Regions from separate parts of the Homo sapiens genome. Here regions 2, 3, 4, 5 and 6 are each linked to region 1. The links are contacts of gene promoters, found by promoter capture Hi-C in blood cells and fetal thymus (Javierre and others, 2016). All regions are on one chromosome and are shown on one strand. The core of a region is centred on a gene start or on the middle of the fragment in contact, and the rest is flanking DNA. Distances in the headings are between cores, read along the strand shown.

The links. The method cuts DNA at HindIII sites, captures the fragments that hold promoters and counts their contacts. A CHiCAGO score of 5 or more calls a contact.
Region 2: a contact is called between a fragment that was not itself captured here and the fragment with the promoter of NUP155 in region 1, in 2 of 17 cell types (total B cells and naive CD8 T cells). The highest score is 8.1, in total B cells.
Region 3: a fragment that was not itself captured here is called in contact with the fragment with the promoter of NUP155 in region 1 in 1 of 17 cell types (activated CD4 T cells); the score reaches 5.2 in activated CD4 T cells.
Region 4: the fragment with the promoter of TARS1-DT here is called in contact with the fragment with the promoter of NUP155 in region 1 in 1 of 17 cell types (monocytes); the score reaches 6.4 in monocytes.
Region 5: a contact is called between a fragment that was not itself captured here and the fragment with the promoter of NUP155 in region 1, in 1 of 17 cell types (non-activated CD4 T cells). The highest score is 8.1, in non-activated CD4 T cells.
Region 6: a contact is called between a fragment that was not itself captured here and the fragment with the promoter of NUP155 in region 1, in 2 of 17 cell types (non-activated CD4 T cells and total CD4 T cells). The highest score is 6.6, in non-activated CD4 T cells.

What each region holds. Positions count from the first base shown.
Region 1 is chr5:37,368,287-37,372,909 of GRCh38, forward strand. It overlaps NUP155 (nucleoporin 155), which reads right to left and starts at 2,820. Exons shown (of 35, transcript NM_153485.3): 1 at 2,535-2,820. The coding sequence starts at 2,691. RefSeq lists enhancers at 2,493-2,602, 2,723-2,812. The HindIII fragment of the contact is 10,669 bases long and covers 1-3,830 here.
Region 2 is chr5:32,435,403-32,440,118 of GRCh38, forward strand. The region is part of intron 2 of ZFR (zinc finger RNA binding protein); the gene reads right to left. Among named protein-coding and RNA genes, the nearest start is that of ZFR, 7.0 kb to the right of the region's middle. The HindIII fragment of the contact is 3,794 bases long and covers 1-3,755 here.
Region 3 is chr5:33,997,472-34,002,251 of GRCh38, forward strand. AMACR (alpha-methylacyl-CoA racemase) reads right to left here. Exons shown (of 5, transcript NM_014324.6): 4 at 1,170-1,356. C1QTNF3-AMACR (C1QTNF3-AMACR readthrough (NMD candidate)) reads right to left here. Exons shown (of 9, transcript NR_037951.1): 8 at 1,170-1,356. Among named protein-coding and RNA genes, the nearest start is that of AMACR, 8.2 kb to the right of the region's middle. The HindIII fragment of the contact is 2,416 bases long and covers 195-2,610 here.
Region 4 is chr5:33,438,506-33,443,423 of GRCh38, forward strand. It overlaps TARS1-DT (TARS1 divergent transcript), which reads right to left and starts at 2,129. Exons shown (of 3, transcript XR_001742630.2): 1 at 1,700-2,129. It overlaps TARS1 (threonyl-tRNA synthetase 1), which reads left to right and starts at 2,460. Exons shown (of 19, transcript NM_152295.5): 1 at 2,460-2,638. The coding sequence starts at 2,582. RefSeq lists enhancers at 1,806-2,393, 2,048-2,357, 2,458-2,647, 2,908-2,967, 2,982-3,568. The HindIII fragment of the contact is 5,282 bases long and covers 898-4,918 here.
Region 5 is chr5:32,587,491-32,592,459 of GRCh38, forward strand. It overlaps SUB1 (SUB1 regulator of transcription), which reads left to right. Exons shown (of 5, transcript NM_006713.4): 2 at 1,022-1,094; 3 at 4,073-4,195. The coding sequence starts at 1,023. Among named protein-coding and RNA genes, the nearest start is that of SUB1, 4.4 kb to the left of the region's middle. The HindIII fragment of the contact is 545 bases long and covers 2,382-2,926 here.
Region 6 is chr5:40,752,110-40,757,075 of GRCh38, forward strand. TTC33 (tetratricopeptide repeat domain 33) reads right to left here and starts at 3,852. Exons shown (of 5, transcript NM_012382.3): 1 at 3,715-3,852. RefSeq lists an enhancer at 3,726-3,875. The HindIII fragment of the contact is 348 bases long and covers 2,297-2,644 here.

The DNA of each region.
Region 1 (4,623 bases), core at 1,570-4,069:
ACAGCTCCCTGCAGTCTCAACCTCCCCGTCTCAAGTTATCCTCCCACCTCAGCCTCCCAAGTAGCTGGGGGTCCAAGTGTGTGTCACCATGCCAAGCTAATTTTTGTATTATTGTATTTCTTTTCTTTAAGAGGCTGGGTTTTGCCATATTGCCAAGACTGGTCTCAAACTTCTGGGCTCAAGTAATCTGCCCACTTTGGCCTCCCAAAGTGCTGAGACTATTGGGCTGAATTCATATTAAAGCAAATCCAGGCTGGGCACAGTGGGTGACACCTGTAATCCCAACACTTTGGGAGGCCGAGGCGGGCGGATCACATGAGGTCAGGAGATCAAGACCAACCTGGCCAACACGGTGAAACCCTGTCTCTACTAAAAATAGAAAAATGAGCCAGTGGCGAACACCTATGATCCCAGCTACTCAGGAGGCTGAGGCAGGAGCATCGCTTGAACCTGGGAGGTGGAGGCCGTAGTGAGCCAAGATTATGCCAACTGCACTCCAGGCTGGGTGACAGTAAGACTCTGTCTCAAAAAATAAATAAATAAAGCAAATCCAGACATCCCATTTAATCCTAAAACATAACTTTAATAGGCCGAAGGTGGCAGATCACCATGTTAAATGGCAGTGGGAACACAGAGGGAGGAATCGATAACTTTAGTGAGGATGGGAATGCTACGAAAGACTTCAGGCCAGGAGTGTGACTTACATCTGTAATCTCAGCACTTTGGAAGGCTGAGGTAGGAGGACTGCTTGATGCCAGGAATTTGAGACCAGCCTTGTAACAGAGTGAGACTACGTCTCTACATAAAAATTAAAAATTAGCTGGGTGTGGTGGCAGGCGCCTGTAGTCCCAGCTACTGGGGAGGGCAAGGCGGGAGGACCACTTGAGCTCATGAGTTAGAGGCTGCAATGAGCTGTGATCATGCCACTGCACTCCAGCCTGGTAACAGAACTAGACCTTGACTCAAAAAAAAAGAACAAGAAAAAGAAAGACAACAAAGAGAAACTAAGGACTTTCACAGGGAGTCTGGAAAAAGTTTGTCAGGCAAAAAAAGAACATTGCAGAAACAATAAAAGTAAGATAAAATCCTGAGGAAATCCTGAAGATGGGGCTTCTTACGGAAAATATGCTAAATTCTCTGTAATCAGAGCAACGGATGAAAAATTGGATGGAAAAGAAGGGGAAGAGACTGGGTGAAAGAGGAAGGTGTGTGTAAAGGCATGAGATATGTAAGAGAAGGACCAGAATGCATGCACTGTTTTTATATCTTGTTTTCACACCTAAGGAGGCCAAAATGAGTAATGTTGTTCAAGATGATAATTGCTAATAGGCCAATCAGGTATTATAAGACACGCTCATTGGTAAGTAGCTGTAGGGAGCAAATACTATCTTTGTTTCTATCATTTCTTTGATTACAAAGCTATCAATGATTTTTATAAATAATCAGAAGTGTTCTCGGTTTACACTGCACAAATTATCCTATTTAGATTACTTTGGTTCTTGCTCACCAACAATCTTTTCTTTCTTACACTTCGCTGGTTTTCTCCAAATTCCATCTCACAAAGGGGTCACTTTTTCTAGCAACTGATGTAATTCCATAAGCCGTGGGGAGCTGGTTATAACTTAAAACTGTTAAACAAATTACTTTCCAGTCACCTATATTGTCAACACATATTCTGCCTTACTCTCCCTGTACATAAGCACTGTGATTTCCCTGTTCTCTTTCTTTATTCCACTGGTAGTTCTTTTAAGATCCTCCAGCATTTCATAACACACATCTCTACACATAATAAAGCGTTTCTTGGCCGGGTGCAGTGGCTTGCGCCTGTAATCCCAGCACTTTGGGAGGCCGAGGCGGGCGGATCACTTGAGGTCAGAGTTCGTGACCAGCCAGGCCAATATGGTGAAACCCCGTCTCTACTTAAAAAACACAAAAATTAGCCGGGCTTGGTGGCAGGCGCCTGTAATCTCAGCTACTTGGGAGTCTGAGGCAGAAGAATCGCTTGAACCCAGGAGGCGGAGGTTGCAATGAGCCGAGATCGCGCCATTGCACTTCAGCCTGGGCGAAGAGGGAACCGCTCCGTCTCAATAAATAAACAAATAAATATAAAGCAAAGCGTATCTTTAAGATAACATGCTAAATTTCCAAATTAACTTCGTTTGCTCTTACGATCTACTCAAACACTAACAGGAGAAATGAACAAATTTGGGACTTGGATCTGGAGATGCTTCTCATATGGCCTTAGCCATAAGCACTTGAGAGCGGCGAGAAGCTCATTAAGGTTGAGGTCTTTGCCTCTTTCTGCTTCAACTGGGAGCTTGCTCTTCACTCTTGCCCTCTCAAGTATCTACAATGAAGAAAGTGAGGAAAGGAAAAAACCTGAAAAGAAGCTGCTTGCTGTTCTCCAAAAATGCAGCCAACAGTGCCATAAATCTCAGCATATCCTCGCCGGGACCAACGCTGGGGATAAGTAGCAAATTAGGAAGTCAGGCGAGAGTCCTTTAGGTTGAGAAAGCAGGGTCACTATCACTCACTTGGGGCAGACACCATAAGCAGCTCGGAAAGGTCCGGGTACATGCGGTCCTCTTGCAACTGACGGTCGATGAGCCGTCCAGCATTTTCCAGAGCTTCCTGCAGGGCTGCGGCAGATGTAGAGGCCGGCATCGCCGCGCCCAACAAAGAAGACGGCATCTCGGAAATCGTAGACACCAGGGTCCAGAAAAAGTCAAAAACCAAGGAGAAACAAGAAAAGATCCAAGAAGTTAGCTTAGATCCGCCGCCTAGGGCGCGCGCGCCAAACGAGCGCCTTGGCGCCTCGACATGACGCACTTCCGCTTCATCCGGTGGGGAACTGGAAGACGCCGTTCTGGCCTGGGAAGAGGAAGCTGTTGGGAGGGGGCTAGAGGTTGTGGGTGGAGCTAGGAGGCTGCTGATGCTTTCGAGGGGGTTGAGGGTTTTGGGGTGTGGCAGGGTAAAATTAGGGTAGGTTATTTAGGGAAGGGAGGGAGGGAAAGGAAGGGAAGGATAAAGGGGAGGGAACAGGGAAGGAGAGGGGCGGGATGGGGTTGGATAGGGTGAGGAGGAAGGAGGGAGGAGGGATACGGTAGGTGGGAGCTAGGTCGTGTGTCTGGCCTAGGAGGTTGGTCAGGTTCCGTTGGTTTAAGCGCGTGCTCGACCTGAGTCTTGGAACTTCCCGCGTCGGTATCCGCTAACTGCAGCTATATGAGTTCGCGCATGAGCGCGCAGTTTGGTTCTCCAAGTAACTGCTTTTGTGAGAGTAGTTAAGAATTGGTAGGTCGCTGTCACAGAGAGGGATATAAACCAGTATCTCACTATATTCTTCGCGGGCTTCAGTGTAAATTAGAATTCATCAGGCTTTTCCATTTGCGTGTCGCTGTCTTTTGACTTTGTTGCCCCTTAGTATAAAATACGTGTTTAAGAAGAAGCTGAGTGCAGGTGGACCGCTGCCGTGCTTTTTATCGTGGCAGAGATAGCAGACAGTTCTAATTCATCTTTCCATTCCCAGCGCTAGTATAGGAACTCGTATGAGATAGGAACCCAAGAGTTCATACAATCCTAAGAAACTGAATACTTGCCTTGTGCCTGGTGCTGGGACTATCAAACTAACACAGTGTTTCCTGTCCTTAAGGTGCTTCAAGCAGAGACAAAGGGCTTCATTATAATTTTTCTATTTGGATAGGTATAAACTATAGCAGGATAGGAGAAAGCAGAGAGGTAAAAGAGGCTTCATTTACTACAGAAGGCAACCTGAGTGGGTAAATCAAAGCACTTTTTAGAAAGCTGCTCTTATTTAGAATCTCACCTAAGAAAGCTTCCAGTTATGTTCTTCAGAATTTCACAAATCAATAACTGAATTACTCTAAATTGGTCTTTTGCTATTTGAATTACATTTTTACTCCCTCAAAGACTTGACTACATTTCTGAAAATTGAAAGTTCTTTGATGTTACCAATCTACACTTAAAATTTGACATAGCCAATATACCAAGAAAAACTGGATTTTTTATCATTGGTATATAGATAGGCAGTTGGGTCTCTAGCTGTGAGTTTACTTTATTTGGTAGACCATAGATTGAAAAGTGGTGGTCTGGCACCGAGTTTGTTTTTAATTTGAGACAAAATACACAAAGTTTTCAACTCCATAAATTGGAAGATTCAACAACGTTGCTGTGATATTCCTGCATAGAAGTAAAGCTCCCCAAAGTGTAATCTAACTAACTTAATTCATTGGCATATTGCCTATGCTTTCCCACTACAACTGCTAAACCGAGTAATTTCTACAAAAGACTGCAAAGCCTTAAATACGGACTCTGGCACTTTACAGGAAAAGTTTGCTGACCTCTTCCCTAGAACAGATAATTATGAATTTTTTTGGTCTTAGGACCCCCTTGATACCCTTAAAAATTATTCAGGATTCCAGAGAGTTTTTGTTTCATGTTGGTTACATCTATTAATATTTGTGAATAACTCAAACTGAAAATTAAAATGTTTAACATTGTATTTAAAAGAGTAACAAGGCCGAGCACAGTGGCTCACACCTGTAATCCCAGCACCCAGCACTTTGGGAGGCCAAGGCAGGTGGATCACAAGTTCAGGAGTTGGAG
Region 2 (4,716 bases), core at 609-3,108, 4.9 Mb before region 1:
AAATGTGGGTGAAACATTACAGACTTCTAAATATAAAACTAGGATAACCAGATATTCTGATAGTAACTTAAACAGAAGAGTGTTATGATTAAATTTACATTTCATAGAGACCATTATGCTTATAGTATAAAACGGTTTGGGAATGGGCAGGATTGGGGAAGTAAGAGAAGCTATAAAGCCACTTTCATAAATCACAGCACTCTTTGCTCTCATCTACATGGTTATTGTTTAAACAGTTTTATTGTTTTTCCCATCAAAAAGGGTCATATTTCTTCAAGCCTATTTTCAAAGACATGCCTTGCCCATTTAATGCTGACTACCATACTAGTAGTGTATTTTATACTATAGCTTTTCCCAGAAATATGAATTCAAAAAATTTATTTTCATTTGATTGATTTCAACCACAGTGCTTCCCAATACTTTAAGCCCATGTGACCTCTGGAGCTCTTAAGTATCTATGTGAACACTAGACTACAAACTTATTTTAAGCAAAATTTTATGCTATTTTTTTCTGTAGCTCCAAGTGATCAGATTCTAGTTTCCTTATAAAGGCTACTCATTAAAATTACACCAGTAACTTGATAACTGTACTAAATCCCTAATCCAGCAACTCTAAAGCTGACGACCTTGCTATCATCTTTTGGTTTTCATGACCCTAAATTCTCCTGGCTCTCTGTTCACACAGTATTTCTTTCTTTCCCTGGTCCTACCTTAAAGTTGGTAACCACAGTTGTATTCTTTTTTTTTTTTTTTTTTTTTTTTTTGAGATGGAGTCTCGCTCTGTCGCCCAGGCTGGAGTGCAGTGGCGCGATCTCGGCTCACTGCAAGCTCCGCCTCCTGGGTTCACACCATTCTCCTGCCTCGGCCTCCCGAGTAGCTGGGACTACAGGCGCCCACCACCACGCCCGGCTGATTTTTTTTTTTATTTTTAGTAGACACGTGGTTTCACCGTGTTAGCCAGGATGGTCTCGATCTCCTGACCTTGTGATCTGCCCGCCTCAGCCTCCCAAAGTGCTGGTAATACAGGCGTGAGCCACCGTGCCTGGCCCCATAGTTGTATTCTTTATTTTTCTATAAATAATTTAAAACATGTCTACTGAATGCTTGATATATGCCAGGCACTGTACTTTCTCTAGTTTCATCCATATTCACCAGCCACCTACTGAATAATGGCTAACATTGATAGAGATATAATATATGCCAGATACTGTTCTGAACACTTCACAAATAATGTTTTCTTTTCTTCATTTTATTAATAATACAGAGTCTCACTTTGCTGTTCACGCTAGTCTCAAAATCCTGGGATTAAAATCCTCCAGCCTAGGCCTACCAAAGTGCTAGGGTTACAGGTGTGAGTCACTGCCAGGTCCACCTTACAAATAATAGTGAATCCTCGAAACAACACAATGGAGAATGTAAAAACCTCCTGGGATACTGATAATGTTCTGTTTTTGTTTTTAATTTAAGTGCAAGTTACACAGGTACACTCGGTTTATGACATTTCATTTTCTCTTACATGTGCAGTTTTCCTATGAGGCAAAGAAAATATTATCTTCAATTTATAGATAAAAAAACTAACAACAGACTGTTTGCCCAAGGTCACATGGCAGGTAATAGGAGGAGCCAGATTCAGCTTAGGTAGTCTGACTTCAGAGCCAACCCAGTCTCTATTATATCATGCAATCCAGATATTTGTCTTGGCTCAATACTTTTCCTTTGTCTAAAATGACCTTCCCTTGATTTTCAGAATGAAAGAACACGAAGTCTACCTCAAACTCCATAGTCAAAATCCTCCAATTTCCCATTTTAGTATTTCATTAAAACTTAATTATAATGGCATAGTTATTTGTAGACTCATCTGTCTCCACCCTCATGCCCCAGAAGTGTAAACTCCCTGAAAGCAGGGACTATGCATATTGTAGATGCTCATAAAATATTAAATAAGTGAATTATTCCCTACAAATGCACTTTAATATAAAGTGTATACAAGACTAATATTCAAATAAAACAAAAAAAAACCCAAAGTTTATTTCATTCATTTTATCTCTGTATGAATAAAAGCTGTACTGTACATGGCTTTCATGAAATACTAAGAAATGATATACTCAGAACAATCACTCTAATCCTGTATTCTGACAGAGTGGTGTCATGGACAATTAATAGTCAAGCAACCTTTAATAAGTAGACTAAAGATCCATCCAAATAATACTAACATACTTCATCAATTACAACATTTATAAGCCTGAATGGTCTTCTGATTAACCTGATGATCTATGTCTCTGAGTAAAAATGTAGCTGATTTTTTTTTTAACAAATACATCTATTTAAACAGACATATATTAGATATATACTCTAATCCAACTGCTTATATAAGCATGTCTATCTCTGGGATCTCTATTTTAACTCAATAATCTGTCTATCCCTGTACCAATACCACATTTTTCTATTAATAATATTTTGGTATCTGATATTACAAGTCCTTCCTTATCATTTCTGCAAGACTTTCATGATATTTTTAGCTGAACACTCTCCTCACTATATACATTAAAATCCCTTTATCAAGTTATACCAAAAATCCTATGAGATTTTTATTGGAGTAATGCTAAATATATATAGGAGATAATAATTTGATGGCATTGGTTTTTCACTCATGAACACAGTCCATCTTTGTCATCTTTTATGACTTTTTTATCCTATTGTATTTTCTCTTCAAAGTGTTTTGAATACTTCATTTGTTTTATTCCTGCTTACTTAATAGATTTGGTGGCTATACATAAACAGGACTTATTTGAAATTTAATAATCTAATTCAATATTGATGAAACAAGAATGCTACTGATTTTATCTGAAAATTTTTTTTTTTTTTTTTTTTTTTTTTTGAGACGGAGTTTCACTCTTGTCGCCCAGGCTGGAGTGCAATGGCGCGATCTTGGCTCACCGCAACCTCCACCTCCTGGATTCAAGCTATTCTCCTGCCTCAGCCTCCCGAGTAGCTGGGATTACAGGCATGCACCACCACGCCTGGCTAATTTTGTAGTTTTAGTAGAGACGGGGTTTCTCCATGTTGGTCAGGCTGGTCTCGAATTCCCAACCTCAAGTGATCTGCCCACCTCGGCCTCCCAAAGTGCAGGGATTACAGGCATGAGCCACCGCTCCCGGCCTTTGCCTGATCATAGATCCAGAAAACTTGCTGTACTCTTATTACTTCTCATATTCTTGCCTGACAAGCATAACAATCATGTTACCTGTAAATAGAAACTTTCCTTCTTTCTCTATTAGTAATGAGGACTCCAAATGTTTTAAAACATTTTACTGTGAGATTATGAAACTCTCTATATAAATATATGATAGATATTAACCAAGGAATCCTTCTAAAACCCTTATAATATTATTACTTAAATCTCTACAGGAAACAGCATTGATAGGAATGCCTATTGATAATCAGGCACTAGGCTAGAAAATTTTATATTTAAACTTCACCTCAAGGCAAGTCAGGTGAGGAAACCAAGTCTTAGAGAAGCTGATACTTGGCCAGGGTGCCTGAAGGGATGGAGCTGGGATTCAAACTCTATATAGTTCCAAAGTTATGTCCTTTTGTTCATAGTGTACTATAAGGCAGTTTACAAAAGCATACTCAAGCAGATACCTATTCTATACAGGGATATTCTGGCTCACCCTACTCTATTAAGACTAATAGCCATTTTATCATCAGTGTAATAGCAACAATCCTTTTGGAATGAAAATTATCTTATTTCAAGCTTATCCATGCAGTGTACATCCTAAGGTCTCTGATTCAACAATGGAAGGATTGATGTTATTAGTCGTTGCAATATTTCTTTTTCTTGTAAAGCCAGTAAATTTCCATCACCAAGGTTGGTTTCAAAAACCTGTTCACCTGGTTTTTTTACTTTCTCAGTGTTTAATCCTTTTCTACCTTACTAGTGTTACTTTTATTCTTTCCTGAATTCAAGACACAATATTCTTAACACTACTTTCAAATAAAAAGTAAAAAAGAGAAAGGAAAAAAGGAAAACTCATTAGCTTATCAGCCTATCCAAGCTACTGTTACCCTACCCGAGTTATCTCATCCTTTAGGAACGGAAGTCCCTAAGACATCTCAAAATCATTAGATGAGATGCCTTCTTTTGACTGGCAGATGCTTAAGGTACAGCAATAGTCAAAATCCACTTACTGCTATGTCCAAGGTTTTTCTAAAGTATAAATAAAGAAAAAGTGGCTGTTTACAACTCTCAATGAGGCTGGGCGTAGTGGCTCACACCTGTAATCCCAGCACCTTGGAAGCCCATTGCAGGAGGATCACTTGAGCTCAGGGGTTCAAGGCTGCAGTGAGCTATGATCACCACTACACTGCAGCCTGGGTGAGAGAGCGAGACCATGTCTTTAAAAAAAAAAAAAAAAAAAAAAAAGCCTCAAAGAAATGGTTATGTCTCATTAATTGTGGGATATAATGGGATTATTTTATAACGTTTATTACATATGCTTTTATAAATGTATATGCCACGAATTCTCCTCAAAAACTGAAGAATTCCTATCAGAACTTCTCTATCTTTGACAATGAAGAAGTTAAAAAAAATGATTTTTGATCCTATGAAACTATTAGGAAGTTTTTTCTACTGAGAATTACCTTTCCTCATATTCTTTGCTATCCTAAAGTCCTTAGAACTGTCATAATAGTTCTCTCCGCAAGATTTATTTA
Region 3 (4,780 bases), core at 153-2,652, 3.4 Mb before region 1:
CGATACTGCTTCCTGTTGTATTTTCAGCAAGATCAGTTCTCCCAGACCTGGCCAAGGACCAGAACTCAGAAAATGAATATCATTTGCTATCTTCATCAGACTGCAGGTGGCAGTGTTCATGGCTCCACAGAGCTCCACCAGAGCATCATGAGCAGCCAGAGCTTCCAATTTATTTGGAGCAGTGACAAAAGGCAAGCTTTTTAATTTCTGGACAGAGAGGTACCCTTTATGATCTAGATAAACCATTGTGTTCTTCTATAGTTTTTCCAACTATATTTGAATAGGTGAAGTTAATATGTTTAATCATAAAATGCTCTCAGATGCTTGCAAAAACAATTACTCCATCAGATAAGAACACATCAAAAATTTGGAAAATTTAAAAAAAGTCATTCCAGCTATATGCAAATAACTTTTAGTATATGCATCTGAAAAGCTACCAAACGTAACAATGAAACTCTAAACTTGTAGTAGAAAGGTAAATGCACTGTGATCAGCTTTCACATCACTTCAGAGTATATTCTAAAACTTCTTAGATTCTACATTATTTATAGAGTGAACTCTAAATTCAAACATTTCTCAGGAACAAAACGACTCCCATCCAATTATTTAATTAGGGAAGAAGAGATCCCAAATTTTCTTGCTAATTTATGACAACTTGCCAAGCAGGCAAGAATCTGCAAGACAGGTCATCTGCAAAGGCATAGTGATATAGTAACATATTCTAACAGAATCTCATTTGGCAAAATCTTTCCATGCTCTGGTGACTTCTGACATTGAAGTGCCATAAGGGACATCTACCAAGAAATAGGAGCTGGTAGAATATTGAATGGAAAGCAACCCATGTGAGATCATTTCTAGGGAAGAGTAAGATCTGGGCACACAGGGTCAAGATTATCCAACACAAGGAGTGAACTGTAATAAAAGCACCGAACATCCTACAAAAGGGATTATTATTTTTAAAACCCTCAGCTATTTTATAGACTAGTAAGACTGCTGGTCAATTTAAAAGCCATGGAAAATGCCCCACATTATATTGATGGCTATAATTAGGTTAATTAGAAAGTGGCTATATAATAAAAGACATCCTAGATGCCAAAAGTCTTTAAAATAGAACCAAAGAACATCCACAGCAAAAGGGGAACTGGGGGAGACGCGTGAAGTTCACTTACCTTTGATCAGCAGCTCGTAGAACTGGGGTTCTATTGCTCCAACAGCCATGAATTCCCCATCTGCTGTCCTGTAAGTCGTATAGAAAGGTGCTCCACCATCCAACATGTTCTGTCCTCGAGGTGCTTCCCACAGACTCAATTTCTGAGTTTTCCACAGAAAAGAACTTAAATATGCTGTTCCTTCCACCTTTGAGAAAACAGAATACAAGACAAATCCAGATAACTCAAGTGTCAAAGCATGAATAATTCCTCCCATTCAAGTTAAAAAAAATTTGCGTAAAAATTCTTATCTTAGAGTATACGAAGATTCTACCTAATTACACAACTTCTCTGGTATTTCCAGAAAGTGAGTTAGAGCAGTTTGTGTTAAAATAACAATTGGCTGCACTATTCAGTTCCAAAAATACTATAAGACTTAGAAGAAATGACCTTTGCTTTCCATTTCAAATAAGATTGGCAAAATGCTAGTGATTTAGCTAGGTGAGGGTACATGGAAGGTCACTATACTATTCTCTCTACTTTTTATAATGTTAAAAACTGCCAAGATAAAAAGTTAAAAATTAAAAGAGCTTTTAAAAATCCATCTTCTGATCTCCATACCTATAAACACACACAGATGTATAAACCATACCACATTTTAAAGGTAAATCACATAAGAGTAAAATTTGGCTTATTCTGGCTTGATTCCAATCCCAAGAAAACTGTATTTGAGTATTTAATGTATTTCATAATCACTAGAAAGTTATAAAATAAACTAACAATATGGATGGCAGGTATGTGCATTTTCTGAGTCCAGGCAAACTGGTTTGGGAATGCCACCTTCCCACTGAGTCCTAAAGTCATCTCATCACGCCACCTTCCCACTGAGTCCTGAAGTAATTACACAATAAAGTACAATTATCACAAGGCTCAAACTCAAAGGCTGAAGGCACTGGACTATTTGAAGAAGATGATGTTCTGACCTTTATGCCTTTTATGAGCCTAATGTCTCCAGCACCCCAGGAGGAAGGCCTTCAAAGCATCCTCGTCTCAAAAGCTACCAATAGAGCAGGCCTCATTCCAACTGCTAGCAATTTCTCAGTTACTGACTGTGGAACAACCACAAAATGTATCTTTGGATATATCCAATTTTCCCTCTTAACTTGAAATTTCACGCACATCTGAATTTATGGCTGTGACATTTATTGTCACCAAATAGCTGAGTTCATGCAAGTGGCCTACGGCAGTGCCTTTTTTTGAGGCTGGATTACAGAGATATTAGAGTTCCACATTTATACACATACACACACACACATATATACACATATGCATGTATATGCGCACTATTTTAAATATATTTTATGTTTATGTTATTTAAGCACATATTTAAATGTATCCTATACCAAATTCTGACTCATCAGAGCCTCAACTCATTAACATTTGTTGCTAGACTTTAAAATAAAGCTTTTCCTTCCAATTTTGCATAAATATTACCTTGTATTTGAAACACTATTGAGGAAAACCTTTGTTCTGCATGGTTCTCCTCTCCTCTTAATTTGTGCTGACTCATACAAAACCAACAAGTTAGCACCTTCAATAAGCAAGTGCCTGCTTTCCGCTCAAGCTTTACTTCTCTCAGAGCCTAACGCCGAATCAATAGGGCGGTAATAGATGAACTGGAAGCAAGCTTGTCATACAGTGCAAGAGAGAGTTTTAGCAGAGAGTTCTGAATACTGTTTATCTGGCTTTCATGTTCAGGCCAAAGAATGTGAGAAGTTTTTACACACTGTAGTGAGTCGACCTAGAAACAAAGTATTTTTGTTCTGCTTCATCATAAATGAAATGCAATCTGAAATTTTAAGCAAGTTTTTAAAAATATAGGGTCTTTTTTTTTTTGAAATGGAGTGTCACTCTGTTGCCCAGGTTGGAGTGCAGTGGCACAATCTCAGCTCACCGTAACCTCCACCTCCAAGGTTCAAGCGATTCTCCTGCCTCAGATTCCCGAGTAGCGGGATTACAGGTGCCTACCACACCCAGCTAATTTTTGCGTAAAAACTATGGATATTTTTAACTTATCTCTGTAACTCAGGATTTTCCTAACATCCAGTCAAAATGAAATACAGTAATAAACTGAATACTGAAAGCGATGAGACAATCACCCATAAACTCTAACTTCCAGTGTTTGTGTTTAGCAGAACAGCTTCGTTGGTCTGACAAAATAATATATAAATATTGAATATGTAAACATAAAATGTTTTATGCTAATAAAATACCCCTTTAATCTCTTTTATATGTTGAACGCCCTGATGAGACTGCTGAAAAATAGACGTGTTAACAGAGTTACAGATCCAGTTGGGTCCACTCAGGACAAAAACAAGCTCTGGTCTAATCCTTAGCATCAGAGGAGGTACAGGACAAGAAATACAGCAGGAACCCTCCTCGTCTCATCATAAGGCCTGGCAGTGGCTACCCTGGCACACGGCTTCTCTTGCCCCATCACTCATATACCATGCATGCGAGTGAAGAGCCCCCTGACACAGGGAAACCGCAGCCTCAATTTGCCACCAACCTTTGATACTGTTAAAAGAAAAACTTTAGACGAATTAATTTAAGAGTTTAACTGAGCAACGAATGACTCATGAATTGGGCAGTCTGTGGAACCAGACTAGGTTCAGAGCGACTAGTGTAGCCCTGGGGCCAAAGAGGACTTATGGACGGAAAATGATGTACAGAAAACAGAAGTGAGGTACAGAAACAGCCGGATTGGTTACAAGTGGGCCTTTGCCTTGTTTGAACATGGTTTGAACAGCTGGCCGCCTGTGATTAGTTGAAGTACGGCTGCTGTGATTGGCTGAGACTTGCTGCTTGTTACAAAAGCAGGTTACAGTCTGTTTACACATCCAGTTAGGTCACAGCTCATTATGTAAGAGAAACCTTTAGGTGGAACTTAAAATACGTAAGGGGGCAGCTTTATGCTACAGTTAATTTAACAACGCTGTGCTCATCATGTGGGCTCAGATTGAGTGTAAATACAGCAAAACGCACTCCATATTCCAGAGTTATCTTAACTACAGTTTCCAAGGAAACAGCACTACAATAAGGCAGCCTCCAGCTCTTCACAGGCAGGCCCAGGTCTGGAATTCTGCTGCTAAACACTGTGAAAACTTTCGGCCCATTAGAAGGTATCTGCCTTCCCCTAATCAGCTTCTGCAATTGCCTGTGTCACAAGGGGTCCTAGTGATGAAGTAATGACTATGATTTACTGATTCTTTTAGCCTTGTGTAATTAGCAAACACTTACTAGCCCCTAATGGAAATATGAACCCAGAAGAAAGATTACAACATTTTCACATACCCTAAAACCTTACTATCTTCTTTATTTAATTTATTTATTTTGAAACACGGTCTCACTCTGTCACCCAGGCTGAAGTGTAGTAGTGTGGTCTCGGCTCACTGCAACCTCTGCCTCCTGGGTTCAAGCAATTCTCATGCCTCAGCCTCCCAGGGAGCTGGGACTGCAGACGCGTACCACCAAGCCCAGCTACTTTTTTGTATTTTAGTAGAGATGGGGTTTCACCATGTTGGCCAGGCTGGTCTCGAACTCCTGACCTCAGGTGATCCACCCACCTCAGC
Region 4 (4,918 bases), core at 879-3,378, 3.9 Mb before region 1:
GTGCCACTGCACTCCAGCCTGGGTAATGGAGCAAGACCTCATCTCAAAGAAAAAAGAAAAGAAAAGGACTATTATTAAAATCAAGGTGTCAGCTAAAGAGCAGTTATATATATATACACACACACACACACACACACACATATGTATATGTGTATACATATATATGTAATCTGCAAATTAGGTAGCTAATATTGCATAACTCTGTTCTCCTAGCACCTTTTCAAGTTACCCTTAGCCTTTGTCAGGACCTCGCTAGACTAGATTCTTTACCTAGAAGGATAGCCCAAACCTTCCTTCCTTCCTTGTCTTTGTTGGGTTCCCAGAGTTTTCCAACAGCGAAACATTAGACAAGGAAGTACTAAAAAAGGTCTCAGTGAATCTCCTGGGTTCTTGACAAAATTCTCCTTTATGTAGAAGAAACCCGCTTGTCCCCTTGTAATCAGGATCAATCACTCTGGACAGAAAAACAACCCCCAATTCTGCCTGTGAGTGTAGCAGTACGTGAAGCCCCACATAGGGTGTACTCTTAGGCCAACTGATCAGAACCATTACTGTGCATATATATATATATAATATATGTATATACATATACGTATGTGTATATGTGTGTGTGTGTGTATATATATATATATATACACATATATAGTAAACTTGCTTAGCTCTAAATACACACATAGTGAAAGAACAAGTTGAACCGGTAAGTTCTACCAAGAACCACATGAAACTACCAGCAGACACTATTGTAAGCGCCAAGGGGACCTTTCTCCTTGGCCCTCTGAGGTTTGGCTGAAAATCACTAACATGAGGAACATTAATAGAAAAAACATACAAATTTACTTAACGTGTATACACAGGAAGAATCACAGCGTGATTACCCACCCCTCAGAGGGCTTCAGAAGCTTGTGGATACAATCCCAGCGACACAGGTTATGATAGGGAGAAGAGGAATTCTGTTGAGGGATTACAAAGGAGAATGAATGTATCAGGAACACATTAATTTGTACAACATCTTGTGAAAGGGTCTGCTCAGGTGTGATTACTACATTCTTGGTCTTACAGGGAGGCAACAAAAACAATTATGTTCCTTGTGATGTGTCTAAACTTTATCCTTTGCTTTGGCAGAGATGGCGTGGGGATTTAGGGGAGTGGGACCTTGAGGCTTCTTCAGTTCAGATGTCAAAACGCCATTATTTGGGGGTATGTTTCTGCGCCTCCAACACTGTTTAACAGGGAGGCTTGTTTCATCCAGTAAGGGAGTCAAGAAATGGTTCCCCGAAGAAAACGATTCTTGAAATCTGACAATAAATGAGGTGTCAAACAGGCAAAAAGTGTGTCGGAATGAGCACGGATGAGGGTAGGGTGGAAAAATCTTGGTACTTAGTCTGTGGGAAGACCTGAGGAAAAAAAGCCACTACAGTTTATAGTTCAGTGTATGGTGGGCGAACGAGATGAAGCCGAAAACTTGGACAATCAGGGATTGTCCAAGAGCAAGGGAAAGCCACCAAAGATTTTTCAGCAGATTGCCGTGATCATATTTGTATTTGAAGACTACAACGATGCTGTATGAAAAATGGATGCACAAAGCCGAATTGGGAAGCTATTGTTCCTGGAAAGTATAACCCTGAAGGCGGAGAGTTGTAGAGAACAGAACTGATGTTTAAAAAGAAAAATCCACAAAACGTGGTGGTGGAGCACGTACCTGAAGTTATGCCTATTGCGCTTCTGATTTCAAATAAGTAATTGTTTTAAATTGCCTACTAACATAAAAAAGCCCAGTCGATTCCAAACACTGGCACCCAGGCGTGAGAATCCATGGTTATTTCCTTGGGTGAGCTTTATTGTATTTTTGCGGGCGCTATGGAAATGCTCCTCCAGGCAGTACAGATCAGCAGCGGCTCGTAGTGAAGAACGTTCAAGGAAGAGTTTGTCCCGGATCAACAGGACATGGGGCTTGGGAAGCCTGGACTGCCATGAGGAAGGTCGATTCACCACTACAGACAGGGAGCCTGAGGCCTGGGTGGTGCCGACAAGTCGGCAGTCACGCCAGGTCAGGAAGCGCCGAAGCCGCGGGAAACCCTGGACTCCATCCCGGGATTTGTCCCCGTGTCGAAGATGGTATCCAGGTCGCCGAAAACTTCCCGGAAGTTTAGACCAAGACCTACTTATTATCTACGGTGTCCGGGAAGGTCCATGATTGTTCCACATAAAGTCAGAAGGGAGGAAAGGCGCACGCGCATTGGGGACTTGACTCTGGAAAGCGTCCAGACCAAGGTCAGCGGAGAGTAGGCATGTAGCTTCTGCAGTTGCTCCTCCTCACCCTCCGCGACCTGATTTCCTAGAAGGGCTCTGTCACCCGAAAAGATTTTCCACTGGCTTAGAGGAGGGAGGGCCCGCCTTCCCCCGTTATCCATTGGCTGCTCGTTCCGCCGCAAGTTGGGGGCGGGGTTAGGGCGCCTTTCGATTGCATCAGCTGGTCCAGCCGAGGCCAAGTCCCGGGCGCTAGCCCACCTCCCACCCGCCTCTTGGCTCCTCTCCTCTAGGCCGTCGCTTTCGGGTTCTCTCATCGCTTCGTCGTTCGCCAATGTTTGAGGAGAAGGCCAGCAGTCCTTCAGGGAAGATGGGAGGCGAGGAGAAGCCGGTGAGCAAACTTGGTGGGACCCAGAGACCAGCCTGGGACTCTAGTGGGTGCAGACGCTACGCTCGCGGCGGGAGCGGGGGGCAGGAAGCAGGAAGCGGCCGGGACCGCGTGGGTCGGAGAAGTGGGGGATGGTGGGACTCCTGGAAAGTCGGAACCCCCTTTGGGAACCATCCATTCATAAATTAGGGTGGGGCCTTGCAGTTCATCTGTGGGTCCATTCTCTTTACAGATGAGGAAACAGACCTTGAGTGAGCGACTTGTTCAGAGCCTCACATCTACAGTAGTTAGACGCGGAGACAGAATCAGAATCTTAGGCTTGAGGCTTCCAAACTTGCGTTTATGGCTTACTGTAAGCGGGAAACACATTGCAGAGCCTTATTTAATCAATCTCCTAAGATCCTGCGGGGGTAAAGAGCTCCATTTTAAGGAAAGGAAAACCGAGTGCCCGAGATCTGACCCAGCTTGTCCAAGTTTGGGTGGTTAAGTATACATTTTGCCCGGCACTGATCTGGGCGGTGCATGTGGGAAGATGAATAGGGCCCAGTTCCCCGACTTTGAGGGCCTCACAGGCTGATGTGTAAGAGACAGGAAAACAGCCCTAGTGCTTTGTGATCAACCTTGTGGTATTACAGAAGAGGAAGTTTAGGAAGGCACTTTAGAATTTAGTTTGGAAGAATGATTTCACCAGGTAAACAGGCAGGACGGGGCTTCCCACGTAAAGGTAGGGAAGGCAGTGAAAAGGGGCACGCAGGTGAATTGTCTTTCGGGTTGTTTGCAAGAGATATGCCAGAAGGGTTAAAGGAACAGTAATCAGAAGGATCTTAGGCAACAAGGATGTTTGAAACTTGTATTCTATACATGAAGGATCTTAAGCAGGAAGATTGTATTTGTAAAAGTCACGCTGGCATTGGGATAGAAGGTTAGGCCACATGCAGAAGGCTGTTGTAATAGTCCAAGTGAGAAGTGGTGACGTCTTCAGCTAAGGGATCCTCTATCCCAAGTCTGTGACAGGACAGTTCACTTAAAAGCCAAATTTTTTTCTTGATTGTCCACTCGAGATTGAATGGAGAAACTGCATACGGGCACATTCTAACTATGTAAATTTAATTCTAGATGATAAATGGTGACTATACGTAGATTTTTTTCACATAAAATGATATTTTTACTGTTTTGTAACTTTTTTTTTTTTTTTTTTTTTTGCTTAATAGAATGTGGTCAACAACTTTCCATGTCCATAAATATTCTCCTGTGCTATTCTTAATTGGACGTGATATGTATGGTTAACACATATGTAATTTTTCCTTCCTGTAATAATTATACAATAGTTAATATTTATTTTGAGTACTAAATACGAGTTTGGCACTGTATTAATGCATTCCATGAATTAACTCATTCAGTCTTCTTTTTTTTGAGACGGAGTCTCGCTCTGTCACTCAGGCTGGAGTGCCGTGGTGCGATCTCGGCTCACTGCAAGCTCCACCTCCCGGGTTCATGCCATTCTCCTGCCTCAGCCACCAGGCCTGGCTAATTTTTTGTATTTTTAGTAGAGACGGGGTTTCACCGTGTTAGCCAGGATGGTCTCGATCTCCTGACCTCGTGATCCGCCCGTCTCGGCCTCCCAAAGTTCTTGGATTACAGGCGTGATCCACCGCGCCCGGCCTCATTCAGTCTTCTTAATAACGCTGTGAAGTGGGTTCTGTTATTATCTCCATTATACAGATGAGAAAGCAGGCGTAGGAACAGTAACTTGCTCAAACCCAGTATCCCCGTTTTTTTCCTTCCTCAAACCCAGTATCCTATAGCCAATACTAATAACCCCTGTGCTGTTCTGAGTGAGTCAGGGACAGATCATTCCTGAGAAAGGTAATTCTGTAGCTTCTCTTCACAATCCGGTTCTGTTTCCCAACTTTTGGGTTGAGATTTTAGATTACTTGTATGTAGATGTACATACCATATATACTCAGGGAAATAGAGAACAGTTGCCTACTCTCTTCCCAGTGTTGTAGAAAAGGGGTCATAGGCCTCAGGGTTCCAGAGAGACCTGTTGTAATTTCCCAGCTCTATTACTTAATGATACAAATGGGCAAGTTACTTCTTTGAGCCAGTGTTCTTGTTTGTAAAATGGAGCCGTATTTAGAACCAGAAAACCTTTGTGGTGATTCCCTCTCTCTCTCTCCCTCTCTCTCTCTCTCTCTCTCTCTCTCTCTCTCTCTCTCTCACTACCCCTGTTCATTTGGCAAATGGTCAAAACCAAAATAATCTTATCAGAAATATAAAACT
Region 5 (4,969 bases), core at 1,404-3,903, 4.8 Mb before region 1:
AGGTTTTGCACCTCCCATAAATAGGTTTTGCACCTCCCATAAATAGGTTCTTCAAATTTTAATTATGTTCCAGAGTAGAAAAATCTGTGTAAAATGTAATGAATTGCTGTGAATTGTGTAAGATTTTTTTTTTTTTTTGAGATGGAGTCTTGCTTTGTTGCCCAGGCCGGAGTGCAATGATGTGACCTTGTGTCACTGCAACCTCTGCCTCCGGTGTTGAAGCGATTCTCCTGCCTCAGTCTCCCGAATTGCTGGGACTACAGGTGTGCCACCGTGCCCTGTTAATTTTTGTATTTTTAGTGGAGATAGGGTTTCACCATGTTGGCCAGGCTGGTCTCGAACTCCTGACCTCAGGTGATCCGCCTGCTTTGGCCTCCTAAAGTTTTGGGATTACAGGCGTGAACCATCGTTCCCGGCCTGAATTGCGTATAATTTTGTGTACTCTTGAATTAGTACCTGTCGTTATTTTGGTGATACGGCCAAAAAGTCAAAATATGAATAAAATATTATGTAAAAATTAATTAGATGTCACATTTGCATAGTACAGCTAGTTCCCTGTTGTGTAAATGTTGGGGTCAGTTCCCCATAGTGAATAATTTTACGTTAGTTCCAATCTCGTTGATGAGAAGTCTAAAGCAGTAATAGTAGAATTACATTTCTTCTGGTTTTAATAGTAATTGTTGTCTGCTGCCTTCTTGCAGTTTACCCTACCCATAGTGTGTAATGCCATTAAAACGAAGTATAGAAAGATCCATTGGCCTGGAGAAAGGTTAGAGGTGTAGGAGTGTATGACATTTAGTTCATTGTTCTTACTGGGTTCAGCACATTGCACCCTGCGTGTTATTTGCAACTTAAAAGGGTATAGATTAAAACTTGTGCTCAGTGTAACAACTCAGTACCACAAAAATGGTAGAATGAACCGTGGAACTTGTCCTTGATTTTTTTCTTTGATTGGGGGAGAGCTAAGTTGAAAGTAGTAGAGTACCTTATTAATTATTTTTGTAATGTATTTTTCTTTCAGGATGCCTAAATCAAAGGAACTTGTTTCTTCAAGCTCTTCTGGCAGTGATTCTGACAGTGAGGTTGACAAAAAGGTGACTACTGCTGCACCAAGTCATTTTGGTGATACTCAACAATATTGTCCATATCCCATTCTGAAGGATAGTAAAAGGTGTATTAACATCTTAAAATGAGGATCTAGCTGGGCGCGGTGGCTCATGCCTGTTATCCTACTTCTTTGGGAGGCCGAGGTGGCAGGATTGCTTGAGGCCAAGAGTTCAAGACCAACCAGGCTAACATAGCAAGAACCTGTCTCTTTAAAAAAATAAATAAATAAAAAATAAAAAATAAGAATGTGAATGGGTATTTCTGGAGGTACGGTTGGTCTCTGGACCACTTGACTAGAAGTGCCTAGGATGCTTTTTGCACATTCATACTCATAGGCCCTAAATCAGACTTAACAAGTCTTCTGTTGAGCATCATTAGGAACCCTAAAGTTGCAGAAACACTGCCTTGCATCCTAGGGTCATAGAATTCTAAGTAGGCCAAAGTCACTATTTGCCGTTATTTAGAAATTTACCAGATTTTTTTTTGTAAAATGTTAATTTTTTTTTTTAAAGACAGGGTCTTACTCTCTTGCCGAGGCTGGAGTGTGGTGGCACCATCATGGCTCACTGCAGCCTCGACCTCCTGGTCTCAAGCAGTCCTCCCACCTCTGCCTCCAGAGTAGCTGGGACTACAGGCATCATGCCTGGTTAATTAAAAAAAAAATGTTTTTGTAGGGACCAGGTATTGCTGTGTTGCTAAGGCTGGTCTCAAACTCCTGGCCTCAGGCAATTCTTCTGCCTCAGACTCCCAAAGTGCTGGGATTACAGGTGTGAGCCATCATGAGTGGCCATAAAATGTTAATTTTGACAGTTCTCTTAGTTACTGGTGTTTATTCTGCACATAAGGTTTTCTGAATTTTAGACTTGGTACATTTTTAAGTTTGTACTAAGTTTGTGCTCTGGTCCCTTCCATTTAATTAAATCAGCACGCAGTAAAGCTAACTTGAAACCCATTGACAAGATAGGCTTTTTCTGCATTAGATGACAGCTGCACCGTAATTGGTGAATTTCGCTAAATTGAGCATCTCAGTGGAGCATAACTGAGCGTCTCACTCTGCGGTCAAGTCTTCCGTGCAGAATTGTCTTTTATCGCATAGAACTTTACATATCTGAAGAGATATTTATATCCTAGAAATAGAATAAGTTGGTCGTGTTTTTCCTAATTAGTATATATCCTTTGTAAAATAGTAAGTAATGACTAGCACTGGTAGACCTGTGATTTCCGAAAGTTTATTCAAAAGAAGCAGGCTCCCTATCTTTTTTTTTTCCTCCTGAAGCTTAGCAATTTTAGCTAAAAGAAAAGGGGAGAGCGTATGGGAGATTGGAGAAGTTGCAACCTTAAAGTATAAATATAGAATATAACAACACATGGAAGGGTAAAATAAGGCTTCAAAGACTATACTTGAGTAAATTTCTTAATTTTAAAATTTGCACCCTATATAGTATTTGAGTATGTTGATGTAACACATGTGTATTGAGCTTTTATTTGCCAGACATGCACTATTCCACAGGGAATACTTAGAGCCTGATTTATAGAATAATTGCTTTCTGCATATTGAGCTAACTTTTTGTTTGTCCCAAATAGTAATATTACTCTTGTAAACACTTAACCTTGTATACCACATTTTTCATTTCATGTTTTACATGTATATAATATTTTTCCTAGCTTCATCTAATTTGGTAACATTCAATTAATTTAGTAACATTAAAATATTTATACTATTCCATCAAGAAGGAACATGACTGCCCTCTTCTGTTTGGGTTGGGTATTGTAGTGGTTTTTATGGGTTAGCTCTTTTTGAGAATGCGACTTTCTAATAAGCTTTTAAAATAATGCTGTTTTTAAAACAACGTTGTGATTTTTGAAAGCTAGTCTAACACATAGCTGTCTACAATGATTTTTTTTTTTTTTGTAATGAGGAAGTTCTTGAGTTGCTGGCTGTCAGTGCCCAGTGCAAAATAGCTCTCTAAAGATTTGCCTAATTGTAAATTCCTTTTTTTTTAATTTTTTATTTTGAGATGAAGTTTTGCTTTTGTTGCCCAGGCTGGAGTGTAATGGCGCGATCTCGGCTCACTGCAACCTTCGCGTCCCGGGTTCAAGCGATTCTCCTGCCTCAGCCTTCCGAGTAGCTGGGATTACAGGCGTGTGCCACCACGCCTGGCTAATTTTTTTTTTTTTTTTTTTTTTTGAGATGGAGTATCGCTCTGTTGCCCAGGCTGGAGTGCAATGGCACGATCTCGGCTCACTGCAACCTCAGCCTCCTGGATTCAAGCAGTTCTCTGCCTCAGCCTCCCTAGTAGCTGGGATTATAGGTGCCCACCACCACGCCTGGCTAACTTTTTTTGTATTTTTAGTGGAGATGGGGTTTCACCATGTGGCCAGGCTGGTCTCGAACTCCTGACCTCAAGTGATCCTCCCGCCTCGGACTCCCAAAGTGCTGGGATTACAGGTGTGAGCTACCGCGCCCGGCCCATAAATTCCTTAAGCCAGCATAAATTCCTTTTGGAATAGGCAGGACATAAATAAACATATCCTGGAAATGGAATAAGTTGGTTATATTCTTTTTAATTAGTATATCTGCTTCGTAAAATAAGTAACTGACTAGCCTTAGTAGACTGTGGTTTCCAGGTTTATTCAGAAGTAGCAAGATCCCTCCATTTTTTTTTCTACCAAAGAAATCGTATGTGGGATCCCAAACCACAAAATAACCGTTCCTGTGGTTAATACTACTATAATGCCTGAAGTGTCTTTTGGGATCCTGAGAACAGAGTTTGAAAACATTACTAGACAGAAGGATTGGTTAGATTCATAGTTTTGTTGTTGAGTGAAACTTGCTTATGTATATATTTATGATATTTTGGATGTAGTCTTTTGATTGTTTAAATCTTAAAAAGTAATGGGATCTTTTGACACTGGGGTATGTTTTATTTTTATGTGTGCAAATTTTAACCATATTCTTTTCTAGTTAAAGAGGAAAAAGCAAGTTGCTCCAGAAAAACCTGTAAAGAAACAAAAGACAGGTGAGACTTCGAGAGCCCTGTCATCTTCTAAACAGAGCAGCAGCAGCAGAGATGATAACATGTTTCAGGTAAAGTTGGCTATTTTTTTTTTTTTTTTTTTTGACATGGAGTCATGCTCTGTCACCCAGGCTGGAGTGCAGTGGCGCCATCTCGGCTCACTGCAACCTCAGCCTCCTGAGTTCAAGCAGTTCTCTGCCTCAGCCTCCCGAGTAGCTAGGATTACAGGCATCCGCCACCAGACCTGGCTAATTTTTGTATTTTTAGTAGAGATGGGGTTTCACCATCTTGGCCAGGCTGGTCTTGAACTCCTGACCTTGTGATCCAACTGCCTCAGCCTCCAAAAGTGCTGGGTTTACAGGTGTGAGCCACCATGCCTTGCCAAAGTTGGCTGTTTCTTTAGATTCAGAGGAATTATTATCTGGCTTGATCTGAAGAATGTTAAAAGTACTATGATCTGATAATTGCCTAATATGTATGTTACAATCTTCTTAACTAGGGACATTTATTAAAATAGAACAAACTAGTAAAAGTATTTTGTACGATGCTGGATTATTGTTAAAGTCTCTAAAGTCTAGTTTTGCTGTATTTAAACCAATGCAAATTTAATTGAGAACTGCACATTTTGAAAGCAACTTGGAGGAGGCAGGTCAAGTGTTGGGACAGTAAAGTATGAATAGATTATTATGGGACAGGAAGCAGCAATGTGACATGCCTAATTTTGGCCTGATGAGCAACAGAAAAGGGGAATGGGTTGAATAGATAAAGTGAAGGAAGTTCATTAGAGGGACTTGATGAAATCACCTAGAGAGGACTCGTATAGCTTTTTCTCTTGGGTTTCCTGT
Region 6 (4,966 bases), core at 1,221-3,720, 3.4 Mb after region 1:
CTCTAGCAGTTTCAAACTTTACTTTGGCAGCTTCTTCACCTCTCTCAGCATTCACAGAATTGAAGAGAGTTAGAAACTTGCTCTAAATGAGGCTCCTGCTTAAGGGAATATTGTGGCTGGTTTGATCTATCTAGACCATTCAAAGCTTCTCCATATTAGCAATAAAGCGGTTTTTGCTTTCTTATCATTTGTGTGTTTACTGAAGTAGCACTTTCAATTTCATTGAAGAACTTTTCCTTTGCATTCACCACTTGGCTGTTTGGTGCAAGAGGCCTAGCTTTCAGCCTGTATTGGCTTTCAACAGGTCTTCCTAAAATCATTTCTAGCTTTTGATTTAAAATGAGAGATGTGTAACTCTTCCTTTCACTTGGACACTTAGAGGGCATTGTAGGATTAACTGGCCTAATTTCAATATTGCTGTGTCTCAGGAAATAGGGAGACCCAAGGAGAAGAAGAGAGATGGGAATAGCCAGTTGGTGGTACAGCATTCAAAACACACATTTATTGATTAAGTTCACCATCTCATATGGGCATGGTTCATGGCAACCCAAAATGATTACAATTGTTAACACCAAAGATCATCGATTACAGATCACCATAACAGATATAGTAATAATTAAAACATCTGAAATATTTCAAGAATTACCAAAATGTAGCACAGAGACACTAAGTGCACACATGCTATTGGACAAATAGCACGAAAAGACTTGCTGGACACAGGGTTACTGAGCACTTGCAATGTGCAAAAACGCAGTATCTATGAAGTGTGATAAAGTGAAGCACAATAAAATGATCCCTGTAATCACTAGAAGGAAGGTGAGAAAAAAAGTGAGGGTGGCTATGAGGTCATTCACATGGAAAGACCTACCGTAATGGCAGAATTTGGAGGGGTAAGAAAATTGTGAGTCGTATGTCTGAGTTCTTAATGAATATGAGAGAGTGCCAATAAATCACAGCAATCAAGAAATATACAGGCTGGGCGCGGTGGCTCACACCTGTAATCCCAGCACTTTGGGAGGCAGAGGCAGGCGGATCACCTGAGGTCAGGAGTTCAAGACAAGCCTGGCCAACATGGTGAAACCCCGTCTCTACAAAAATACAAAAAGTACCTGGGCATGGTGGCACATGCCTGTAATCCCAGCTACTTGGGAGGCTAAGGCAGGAGAATCGCTTGAACTTAGGAGGTAGAAGTTGCAGTGAGCCGAGATTGCACCATTGCACTCCAGCCTGAGCGACACGAGCAAAACTCCATCTCAAAAAAAAAAAGAAAGAAAGAAAGAAAGAAAGAAATATACAGGCTGATAATATAAGTGAACCACAAACTTTCCACAGGAACTGAGATTTTTTTTAAAACCTGGAGGACTAATGGATTATAAACTGTGCTGGGGAATAAGGACAATGCAAACTCTCTCCCCAGGCCGATCATATTATAGGAGAATGAGTTTCCCATGTTTGAAGATGACTATGAGTATTGTAGGGGAAGATGGCTGAAAACAGAAGTGTGGATACTATGGAACAGAAGTTAAAAGGCACACAGTGAGGACAACCTGAGAAAATACAGATCATTAGGAAAGACTCACAAGATATCAGTGTAAGACAAGATAAAAAGAAGTCTTGTATTTATGATTATCCCTAATGGTAACAAGAATGATGACCACGTTTTCCGGTTTCAAGATTCCAAATGAAACTTTCTTTATTCATAAGGTGAGGCACCAGGCACTGTGGGAACCCTACTCATACTAAAGGACACCTAGTGTGTTTACTGGAGGTAAACTACAATAAAAATCATTGATCAAAAGAAAAAAAAGTAAAAAAAAAAACCGTTGATCAGATCTGTAGATTACATGAGGGGCTGTGATAGGGTGGGAAGGAAAGGAAAAAGTGAGAAACAGACCCACACATCTTTTAAAATTAATAGGTCATTCAGATTCCAATTACCCTCCCCATCTTCCAACCCAAACCACTGTTATAAATGCTGGGGACAAGTATAAGTTATGGCCCAAGGTGGTGGCTCTCAACCATATGTGAAAAAACCACGCCACTATTGCCTCAGGTGTTTGAGCCATTCTCCTCCACAGATCCCTTGAGACCTAGAGATCAGGGGCTGCAGAGGTCAGGACAGACTGAGGTTATGAGGGTGTGGGAGGCCTGATGCCACTAGCAATCGACAAGTTTAACCTGAAAGAGGGAGACAAAAATACAGTCCTCTCAGACAAAAAAAGGAGTTAATATTGAGTGAAACATACAGGCAAGTTCAGGGATGGAGGGAAAGGAAAATGAGGAATTTCATGCCCCAAGCTTCACATTTCTCCAGCAAACAGCGGCTAGTCATCTGCTCAAAGTAAAAGGAAAATAACAGATCTGAGTTCTTGAGAAAAAGGGAAAAGACTAAAATAGTCACTGTGGAGATAAGGAAAAGCAACAAAGGAAAAATAGAGATACCAAACAGTAGTATCAAGGGCCCACTACTGTGTAAAAGCATGAATCTGTTATCAAGGCCATTAGCAAAGTTTTATATTTTCTTCAAAAGTGTCTGGAAACCACAGAGTACAGTCAATTTCATACACGATATGTGCTACAAGAGAGTAAACAAAGGATGCCATGACATCAGAGAAGAGACACTTGAGGCTTTCTGGAGGACTTAAGCTTTGAAGAAAACTTAGCCAGGCTTAAAAAGGTATGTGAATCCTAGAGCATGCAAAGCACTTTCTGCATTAGAAAATTTAACATTCCCAGTTGTTTCAGATATCTTAAGCCGAACGAGTTTATTGTTCCTCTATGACTATCTGAACATGAAATTAAAACTTCTTATGAAGGAGGCTTTCCTGAGTCTAGTTAGAAGCACGAGGCTTCAACATCCTAGACTTAACATTTTTTTACCAGAGTAAGAAACCATGAGAGTAAACCACAATCCACACCGGTTTCATGTTAAACTCATGAAACCAGACAAATTCAACCTTTTATATAGGATTATATTTCAGGAATGGCATAACGATTCTAAACAACGACGCTGTATTCTAAATTCCTGTACTGTTACAAAGATCCCTATAGTAGGCGCTCAACAACTGGCGACGGCTTCACATTTACCCAGCCGCCAGAGAGGGCTTGTCTTGAGTGTGTCTGAGGATGCAGCACCCAAAGGGAAAAACCACTACATGAACAAGATCAGGAAATCACAACAGCATCCTTCTGGGTAAAAGGAGGTATTCAGAGGTGAGGAATCCAAGAAACGATTTACCCAAAAACGCCACCGCAAGAGAAAAACCAGTATTAGTGACTTTCCCTTCATCGGTCAACAATAATAAAAACGCTCAGAAAGGCTGCCCCGGACGTCACCTGCGCGTTCACGGACCGCCCCGGGCCGCAGACACCTCTCCAGCGGGGAGCGGCCGGCTCGTCCCGCCCGTCCCACCGCTCAGGGAAGGTTGCGGCCGCGCAGCTCCGCGAAGGTGCCACGGCGGGCCCGACCCTCAGACTCGCTTGTCCCTGGAGACCAACCCTAGCGACCAGGCTCTGCCGGATCCCGTCGGGTTTCAACTCCTATTCCGAAGGTCCTTTCTCCCCTAATCACAACACCCACTCGCCTCTTTTTCCTCCTCTTCCTCAGCTTCCACCGCCGACCGGGCAGCCCCAGTTACCCGATAACGGCTCCCAAGGCCCCGTGTTTACATTCTTTCCCACTGGAAGCAGAAATTATCACGCCCAAATTCCTACCTGCCTTCCCTGGATTCCTGGTTTCCTAAGAAACGGGTTTGGCCCACCCCTGGGCGTTCGAACAGTCCACAGAAGCGGGCAAAGGAAAGACGACTCAGTCTTTCCCCTCCGCCAATCTCTTCTCCGGGACCACAAATCCCAGAAGTCACCGCGGCCGCCCCCACTGCATGACCTTCTGGGATTTGTAGTAGTCAGGGCCACGCGGCTGGGCGCGCCCTCTAGCAGCAGCCCTGAGTGACCGCAGCGCACGAGCGCGGGAAAATGAGGCTGCGCGGGCTGAAGAGCGCACCGAGAGGAGCCGCCCCCGCGGTACCGCGCAGCCTCGCGTCCCGTCAGTGGGGAACAAGGTGAGGGGAAAACTTATTTTACGGGATTCAAAGGATTAGGATATGCTCCTTCCCCGAAGGGGTTTATAGCCTAGCTGATGAGGTCGGCCAGACGCAGAGAACAGAGAGGCAAAATTCGGTTATAAAGGGCTCGAGGCGGCCGGGCGGGGAGGCTAGTCAGGGAGGCTCGAGGCTGAACTGCAGGCTTCACGTTAAAGTTACAAGTGAGTTGGACCCAGAAGGCAGAATTACAGCCAGAACGTAGCTGTGCATCATGTCTTGAAAATAAACGAGCACATGTAATAAAGGTAATCAAGATTGTTAATTTCTCCAACTCTCCTGCCCAAAAGACTCATTTTTGGAAGTCATACTTTCTCAGCCTCAGCACCATTAACATTTCAAACTGGATAATGCTTTGTTGGGGGACGGGGTGTTCTGTGCATTGTAGGGTGCTTAGCAGCATCTCTGGTCTCTGTCCACGGGATGTCACCACCAGTCGATTGTGACAGCCAATGGTTTCCCCAGTGAAATTTCCCCTGGAAGAAAAACTATCCCTCCCACCCTGCCCCGTTGAGAACCACTGATGTCGACCAACGATTGTCCTGAGGGTCAATGACACCCTTTCAAAGCCAAAATTATTTTCATACTAATATGAAGACGTGATTTGCCCTTTGCACAATGCTGACATTTGCACTGATGGTGGAAAAGCAATGGTAGGTCAAGGTGCTGGCCCCTCCACAGGAATTACAGTAATGACACCAAACCGTACTGGAGCTCTTCACCACCACACGCTCACAGTAAGAAAAATGGGCCGGGCGCGGTGGTTCACGCCTGTAATCTTAGCACTTTGGGAGGTCAGGAGTTCGAGACCAGCCTGGCCAACATGGCGAAACCCCATCTCTACCAAAAATACAAAAATTAGCCAG